Linked DNA regions of Homo sapiens: region 1 is linked to region 2. Evidence: promoter capture Hi-C in 16 types of primary human blood cells and fetal thymus (Javierre and others, 2016). All regions are on one chromosome and are shown on one strand. Each heading gives the region's core, a stretch centred on a gene start or on the middle of the fragment in contact. The rest is flanking DNA. Distances are from core to core; before and after follow the strand shown. Region 1 overlaps PRUNE2 (prune homolog 2 with BCH domain). Region 2 holds the start of FOXB2 (forkhead box B2).

Region 1 (3,697 bases), core at 216-2,715, 260 kb before region 2:
TGGTGGTCCTTCCCTTTCACCTCCTACCAACCACCAGCTTTGGCTACTAAGAAAGTGAAAGTAGATGAAAAATATTTAAAATTAACAAACCTCAGCTCTTCACAGAGCCATTTTGATGAATATCTGAAAATCCCCCAACTAATGAGAGGTCATGTAAGTGCATATGTCAAAAGGAACTGCTTTTTTAAGATAAAAAATTACTCTTGATTTAATGTATTCCACATTTATCAGTGACTTACCCTAACGTCTCTTCTAATCTGCATGAAAACGTCTCTGTATATCCTGGATCACTTACGGCACCCAGGAACTGTGAAGCTGGCCTAAACCAGTCCCTGGCAGCTCTCCTCTTTGAATTGGTAAACCCCTGGGAGCTGCCTGTATGGCTCACTGGCCAGATGGCGCTGCTTCCCCATTCTTTCCAGAGTTGCATGGCTGTCGCAACTAGGAACCAGGCGCTGGCTTTCCATCCTAACATTTGAATGCTTCCTCCATCAGAACAGCTGCATTCTCTTTGCCAACACATGTGTTTTTCAAAATCTCATTAGACATCTAACATTTTCAGCCAGATTGTGTCCTGAAGGCACTGTGGCCTCCCAGGAGGATTCCCTGAGTCTGGAAAAGGTACTAGGATGAGGAAAAGGCAGGTTATTAAAAAGTGGGAAACAGAGGACCTGCTTCAAGTCTGCAAACCTTTGTCATGGAAGCAAAATGGATGTTTCACGCCAAGTGTGAGAAAGCCTCCATCACCAGGGACAGGGGGGTGCCTTGATGCTTGATGCTGTTCCCCACCCACCCTGCCCGTGCCCTGCCCCCCCGTGATACTTAAACTGCAGTATTTGCAGCATTTTTGGGGGGCTGGAATAGCCAATGCAAGCAAAGTGTTTAATCAGTATTAATCTCCCAGAATGTCACTGTTACCAGCTATCAATCTGCATAAATTCTACTGCAAAACTTTAGGAAGAAATGCTATTCAGAGCAAATGATGCATCAAATTCAAACAGGCCATCAAGACTGCTAATGGATTTTAATAGCAGCTATTACAGCATAATAGTATTTTCCCAACAGCTGTTTGTTGATACAATTCTGCATTTACAGGACCTTTATATCCAATCCCAGGAGATGGCTCACCATTCATTTATAATCATTTGGTTCCACCTACAAACAAATGCTACTTTATTTGCATTTGGAGATTGTGAATGGTCTGCAGATCTGACCTACTCCCACCTCATTCAATGAAACCAGCAGCGAATATTACAAGCTAGATTAATTAGTTAATATTTAGATGTACTAACTACTGCCAGAAAAATACTGTCAACTGGCAAACTCAAAGAGAAGCTTTTTTTGATTGCTTGGCTGCATTCTGAGTCATGTTAGTTTTGAAAACTGCTTTTTACTCGTATGTAAATGAGTAAAGGGCCTAAACTAGGATTCAGACTGAAATTTCAGAAACTAAAGCATCTATAAACCATTCTAAGTTTTTCTGCTTGAGATGACTAATATTAGAGAATGCCAATAAATCACTGCCAGAGTGAAGGGCTCAACTGGTAATAATTGCGATAATAACTGAAGTGAGGAAGAATTTATTAATGAAGCTCAAAGCTTTGTTTCTTGTGGAATGGTCAAGAGATTACAACAGGCCAGGCATGGTGGCTCATACCTGTAACTCCAGCATTTTGGGAAGCAGAGGCAGGGAATCACTCGAGACCAGCCTGGGTAACATGGAGAAATCCCATCTCTACAAAAATTAGCTGTACATGGTGGCATGCATCTATAGTTCCAGTGACTCAGGAAGCTGAGGCAGGAGGATCCCTGGGCCCCACCCAAAAAAAGAGAGATTAGAATAGATCCCGAAAGTCTTAGTGCAGTTTTAAGCTTTAATGACTTCAGAAACATGCATACTAAAAACTTACATAAAACATCATTTGAAAGTTTGTTTTCATTCCTTTTATACTGATTTAGTTCTGTGAATTAAAAAATTTTTTAAATAATAATTTTTTCTTCTGGTTAACCTTTGCTATCTTCAATCAGGAGACTATAACAAAATAGAAAGTTCAAAATACATTATTCAAAACTTATAAAACTAATAGAGTAAAAGAGATGAAAATAACTAAACTTCCAAAAGCAGCGTTTTGTAAGCTTATAGTATTTCTATATCTGACAGTATTAACGCATAAAACTGCACTGAGGCTTTTGGGACCAACTGTGTAGAACTTAAATAAATGCAAACTTGGTGAAACTAAGAAGTAATGCTGAAGTCACCCTCCTGTCCAGCCATGGGTGGTATGGTTCTTAAAGGAATCTGCATGCATAACTCCTAGTATTTTCAGTCCAGGAGGTGCTGAGGGGTTTCCTTGCTTAGTGCTGCAGAGAGTTGCAGAAGAATCAAGTGGGAATAACAATGATAGGAAATAATTGCTCTGTTGAATCAGGGTGTCTGGTTGTTATATCTTTAAAAAAATTTTTTTTTTTTTTTTTTAGACAGAGTCTCACTGTCAGTTAGGATGGAGTGCAGCACCGTGATACTAGCTCACTGCAGTCTCAAGCCTCAAGGGCTGCTCCCGCCTCAGCCTCCTGAGTAGCTGGGACTACAGGCAAGCATCACAATGCCCAGATGAATCACGGTGTTTGGAAAGGATGCAGGCATTTTCTACCCCACAGAACTTTACAATCCATACAAGCATTTCTCTCTACATTATCACATTTAACCCTCAACACAATCTGGATAGGTGGATAAGAAGGCTGAAACCACAGGAAATTTTTGTGATGGGTCCAGGAAAAAAAAAATTACGGGTAGCAAATGGCTGTGAATTTAAAGTCAAAGCTTCTGATCCTTTTCTATTCCATGATCACCCTTGACCAGGGGAACTGGTCCAGGCAACGTAGTCTAGGAGGGGCTCAGGGGGTTCAGACAGGAGCAGATCAGAAGGTGGCAAATAGGGACAAGAACCTAAGGTCTGCTCTGCTCCAGTGCAAAGCAGGTGTTTGCTGGAGAAGCAGACTTCATACTGGAAGAAACAAGCCCCTTTTAGCTGGTGGCCACTGAGCTGACTGAGTTACAGTCCCCTCGAGGTAGAGTGTTCAGCCACAGAAGCCTTGCCTGCTCACCTCCCCGTCTGGGTCTCCCTCCCTGGAGACCACCATTTGAGGTGTAATGGAAATAGTGCATTTGATGCCTGCCTCTGTCACAGAGTTTTTGTGTGACTGTGAACTCATACTTACCTCTGATACAAACAGGAAGCAGGGAGATACTGGGTAGAAGAGGGCAGTTCCCTTACCCCACCCTCAATCCTGGAAACCCGTATCCCTAAATGGGAATAAGCATTCCTGTTTTCACACCCAAATGTTGCCTTTTGGCCCACCACGCCCTGCTATCCTGTGCCCACACAGACCCCAAACCCCAGGCTCCATGAGCAGATGAGCAGAAGAGCAGAGGGACAGCAGAAGAGCAGCGTGGCAGAGAAGGAGAGAAGAAAAGGAGTGTCTGAACATCGAGAGGACTTTGGCTGGGGTCATTTGGAGAGGAGAGTGGCTGAACTCCAGGGGAAGATCATCTTCCCACTCCATTCCCTTTCCAGCTCCCCATCCATCCTGCTGAAAGCCATCTTCGTCTGGCAATAAAATCCCCCACATTTACCATCTTTCAATTTATCCATGTGGCCTGATTCTTCCTGGATGCTGGACAAGAACCCAGGTACCA
Region 2 (3,756 bases), core at 1,078-3,577:
CAGAAGCTGAAAACACCCGATCTGGTGTCACCAAGGTTGCTAGTTAGGGGGCAGCCCCCCAAGCAGCTGGGCCGATGGCTTTCTTCCAGGTTAGGCGTGGGAAAACCGAGGGAGCCATAGTGTCCAAATGCTCCTTTCTCCTCAAATCGCCTAACGGGAAAGGACCCGTGAATTTCCAACTTCAGCCACCCTATTTTACAAATAATGAAACAGTCCCAGAGACGGAGAGTATACTTGTTTCTAAACTCTGCTTTTCCTCCCAGCTGAAGGGCAAAGGTAGCCAAAACGAGTATACAACTTCAGGTTCTCCCTGCAGTAAACTGGGGTTTCCTGCTGGGTGTTTGGATGAGTGCAGAGCAGGAACCTCCAAGCAGAAGGACCTCACTCCTGGGTTCATCCACCTCTCCCTCGCAGATCACACCAGGATCCTGTGGACTGATAATTTTTGCTTCCTATTTAATTATTTCCATTCCACCTCCTGCCTCGCCCTGGCCCCACACCACCGTGCTAAGAATAGCAAAGATTTCCTTCCAGCACACACAGGTGATGGGACCCCTGAATCCCCAACTCTTACTTCTGGCCCCAGCTCAGACATCGCCATCCCAGAGAAACCTCATCTTGTCCAACTCACTCGCTCCAGGAAAGTGTGGTGGAGCCTCCATTCGCCAAGCCCTTTAGTGCCTATTCTATTAATTTCTTGGTTACTGTTCGTCTCACCCTCTATACCGCGATGGTGGAGCTCGGATACTGTCTCCTGTCTCCCTGCACCTGGTGCCTCACATGCAGTTGGCGCGCAATAAAACTGAGATGAATTTGGCATTTGGTGAAAACACCCCATGCTTTCTTCCCCATGAGTTTTTCCCTCCAGCCCTCTAATCATCGGGGTTTCTTGCAGAGAAGAGGCCTTGAGGACACGATACTCTGAACTTGACCCAGAGTGTCTAGCCCAGGAAAAAGGGTTTGTAAGGAGAGAGAAGCTCACAGCGAGTAGATGAAAACAGGGAAGGGTAAAAGGAAGGGGGCGGAAGAGGGAGATGCCAGAGAGAAGAGAAGCAAGAAGGCAGTGTCCTGTTCCCCCTCCACCGTGCTTGGTGGCCCGGGTGGGGCGCAGCTGCGGGAAATGCACCCGGAGCTGTGCCCCCTCCCGGCGAACAGCCTGCGCCACCCGCCGCACCGGGAGGTGGCTGGGGGCTGCCGAGCGAGTGGTGAACGCGATGGGTGGAGAGCGCCCGAAACGAGGTGGAAAAGGGGGCGGGGGCGAGGCACGGCGCCTTCTTGCCCCTTCTTCAGCTACAGACGCGGCGGCGGCGGCTGAGTCCCTCAGCCTCGGTCATGTGATAGTCTCGAAGCGCTAGCTGCGGGGGTCTCGGCGTCTCGGGGACCATTACAAAACGCAGCCAGGAGAGCGCGTCGCTGCCACTGCCGTCGCCTCTCCTCCTCAAGACAAGCCCGGGAGAAAGGCGGCAGCTGCGGCGCGGACGGCTGAGCCTCCCCGGCCAGCACTCACCCAGCATTCGCAGACGCCCTCTCCAGCCCGCCGCTCGCTCCCAGAGTCCTGCGCCCCACACTCCTCAGCAGAACCTGCGGGCGCTGCCGCTTCAGAAACCACCAAAGTTTTTTCTCCTCAGCGACAGCCTAGGGCTGCGCGTCTCTTCTAACCCCGGCGACGCTGCGAGCCTCGGAGAAAAGAGAGGCGCCCTAGAAGCCAATCTTCTCTCTCCTTACCCTGATTTTTCACTCCAGGAAAAGGAGAACTCCAGCGCGGTCTGGCTAAGTGCCTGGCCAGGGGCCTGCGTCCAGGGCACTGGAAGTCCTGCTGTCACTGGCCTCCAGGACAGCAGGCGCAAACTCAGATTTAAAGGGCCAGAGTCTCTACTGCCCAGACCTTCCTCCCAGCCATCTTGGTCTGGGTTTCCCTCGGACCTAGAAAAAGCAAAGAGGCCGGGAGGAAACACGGCCCCTTGCCACTCTCCTCTGCAGCCAGCTCCAGCACTCAGTCTTTGGCCACCCGGGGGAAGACGCAGAGAAGGCGGCGGTAAACCTGGTGCACTCCGCCCGCGACTGTGCGCGCCAGTCGGCAACCGTCGGGGCCAGAAGTTGCCAGCTTCCGAGAGCTGAGTAGGCCCGAAAGGCCAAGGTCGGAGACACCAGGCAATTCGGAGAAGGCAGGAGAGAGAAGCAGAGAGGGCCTGGAGGGCGAGAGGGCAAAGTGGCGGGACTGGAGGGGCCGAGTGGGAATTAGTGGGGGCAGCCAGGCCCCAGGAACGGAGTGCGGAGAGATTCTGTGGTCCAGTGCGGGCCGGAGGGCGGTGGAGGAGCCGGGGGCGATGCCGCGGCCGGGGAAGAGCTCGTACAGCGACCAAAAACCGCCCTACTCTTACATCTCGCTGACCGCCATGGCAATCCAGCACTCGGCCGAGAAGATGCTGCCGCTGAGCGACATCTACAAGTTCATCATGGAGCGCTTCCCCTACTACCGCGAGCACACACAGCGCTGGCAGAACAGCCTGCGCCACAACCTCTCCTTCAACGACTGCTTCATCAAGATTCCGCGGAGGCCCGACCAGCCTGGCAAGGGTAGCTTCTGGGCGCTGCACCCCGACTGCGGGGACATGTTCGAGAACGGCAGCTTCCTGCGGCGTCGCAAGCGCTTCAAGGTGCTGCGCGCCGACCATACTCACTTGCACGCGGGAAGCACCAAGAGCGCGCCGGGCGCCGGTCCGGGAGGGCACCTTCACCCCCATCACCACCACCACCCCCACCACCACCATCATCACCACGCTGCCGCACACCACCACCATCACCACCACCCACCCCAGCCGCCGCCGCCGCCGCCCCCGCCGCCGCCGCACATGGTACACTATTTCCATCAGCAACCGCCTACTGCTCCGCAGCCGCCTCCGCACCTCCCGTCACAGCCCCCGCAGCAACCGCCCCAGCAGTCGCAGCCTCAGCAGCCGTCTCACCCCGGCAAGATGCAGGAGGCGGCGGCCGTGGCGGCGGCGGCGGCGGCGGCCGCGGCAGCCGCGGTGGGCAGCGTGGGACGCCTGTCTCAGTTCCCACCCTACGGGCTGGGCTCGGCCGCCGCCGCTGCCGCCGCGGCCGCGGCGTCCACGTCAGGCTTCAAGCACCCCTTTGCCATTGAGAACATTATTGGCCGGGACTACAAGGGCGTGCTGCAGGCTGGAGGGCTGCCCTTGGCGTCCGTCATGCACCACCTGGGCTACCCCGTGCCCGGCCAGCTTGGCAACGTCGTCAGCTCCGTGTGGCCGCACGTTGGCGTCATGGATTCGGTGGCCGCCGCCGCGGCCGCCGCAGCCGCAGCCGGAGTCCCTGTAGGCCCGGAGTATGGGGCCTTCGGGGTCCCGGTCAAGTCCCTGTGCCACTCGGCAAGCCAGAGCCTGCCTGCCATGCCGGTGCCCATCAAGCCCACGCCTGCGCTGCCGCCCGTGTCCGCGCTGCAGCCGGGGCTCACTGTCCCCGCGGCTTCGCAGCAGCCTCCGGCGCCATCCACCGTGTGCTCCGCGGCCGCGGCCTCGCCCGTTGCCTCTCTGCTGGAGCCCACAGCCCCTACCTCGGCCGAAAGCAAGGGCGGCTCCTTGCACTCGGTGCTAGTGCACTCCTAGGGGACCCGGCGGGCGTGGGGAGACCAGCGGGGTGAGAGACGCCGGGCCCGGAACCGCCCAAACCACCCGACGGGGAGAGGGCGCCCTGGTCAGGCCGGGCAGAGCTGGCGAGTCTCAGCCTTTGCTGGAA

What was found. The method cuts DNA at HindIII sites, captures the fragments that hold promoters and counts their contacts. A CHiCAGO score of 5 or more calls a contact.
Region 1: a fragment that was not itself captured here is called in contact with the fragment with the promoter of FOXB2 in region 2 in 1 of 17 cell types (M0 macrophages); the score reaches 5.0 in M0 macrophages.

Annotation. Positions count from the first base shown.
Region 1 is chr9:76,756,045-76,759,741 of GRCh38, forward strand. The region is part of intron 6 of PRUNE2 (prune homolog 2 with BCH domain); the gene reads right to left. Among named protein-coding and RNA genes, the nearest start is that of PCA3, 6.5 kb to the right of the region's middle. RefSeq lists an enhancer at 235-304. The HindIII fragment of the contact is 264 bases long and covers 1,334-1,597 here.
Region 2 is chr9:77,017,328-77,021,083 of GRCh38, forward strand. FOXB2 (forkhead box B2) reads left to right here and starts at 2,328. Exons shown (of 1, transcript NM_001013735.1): 1 at 2,328-3,626. The coding sequence starts at 2,328. The coding sequence ends at 3,626. The HindIII fragment of the contact is 5,221 bases long and covers 1-3,756 here.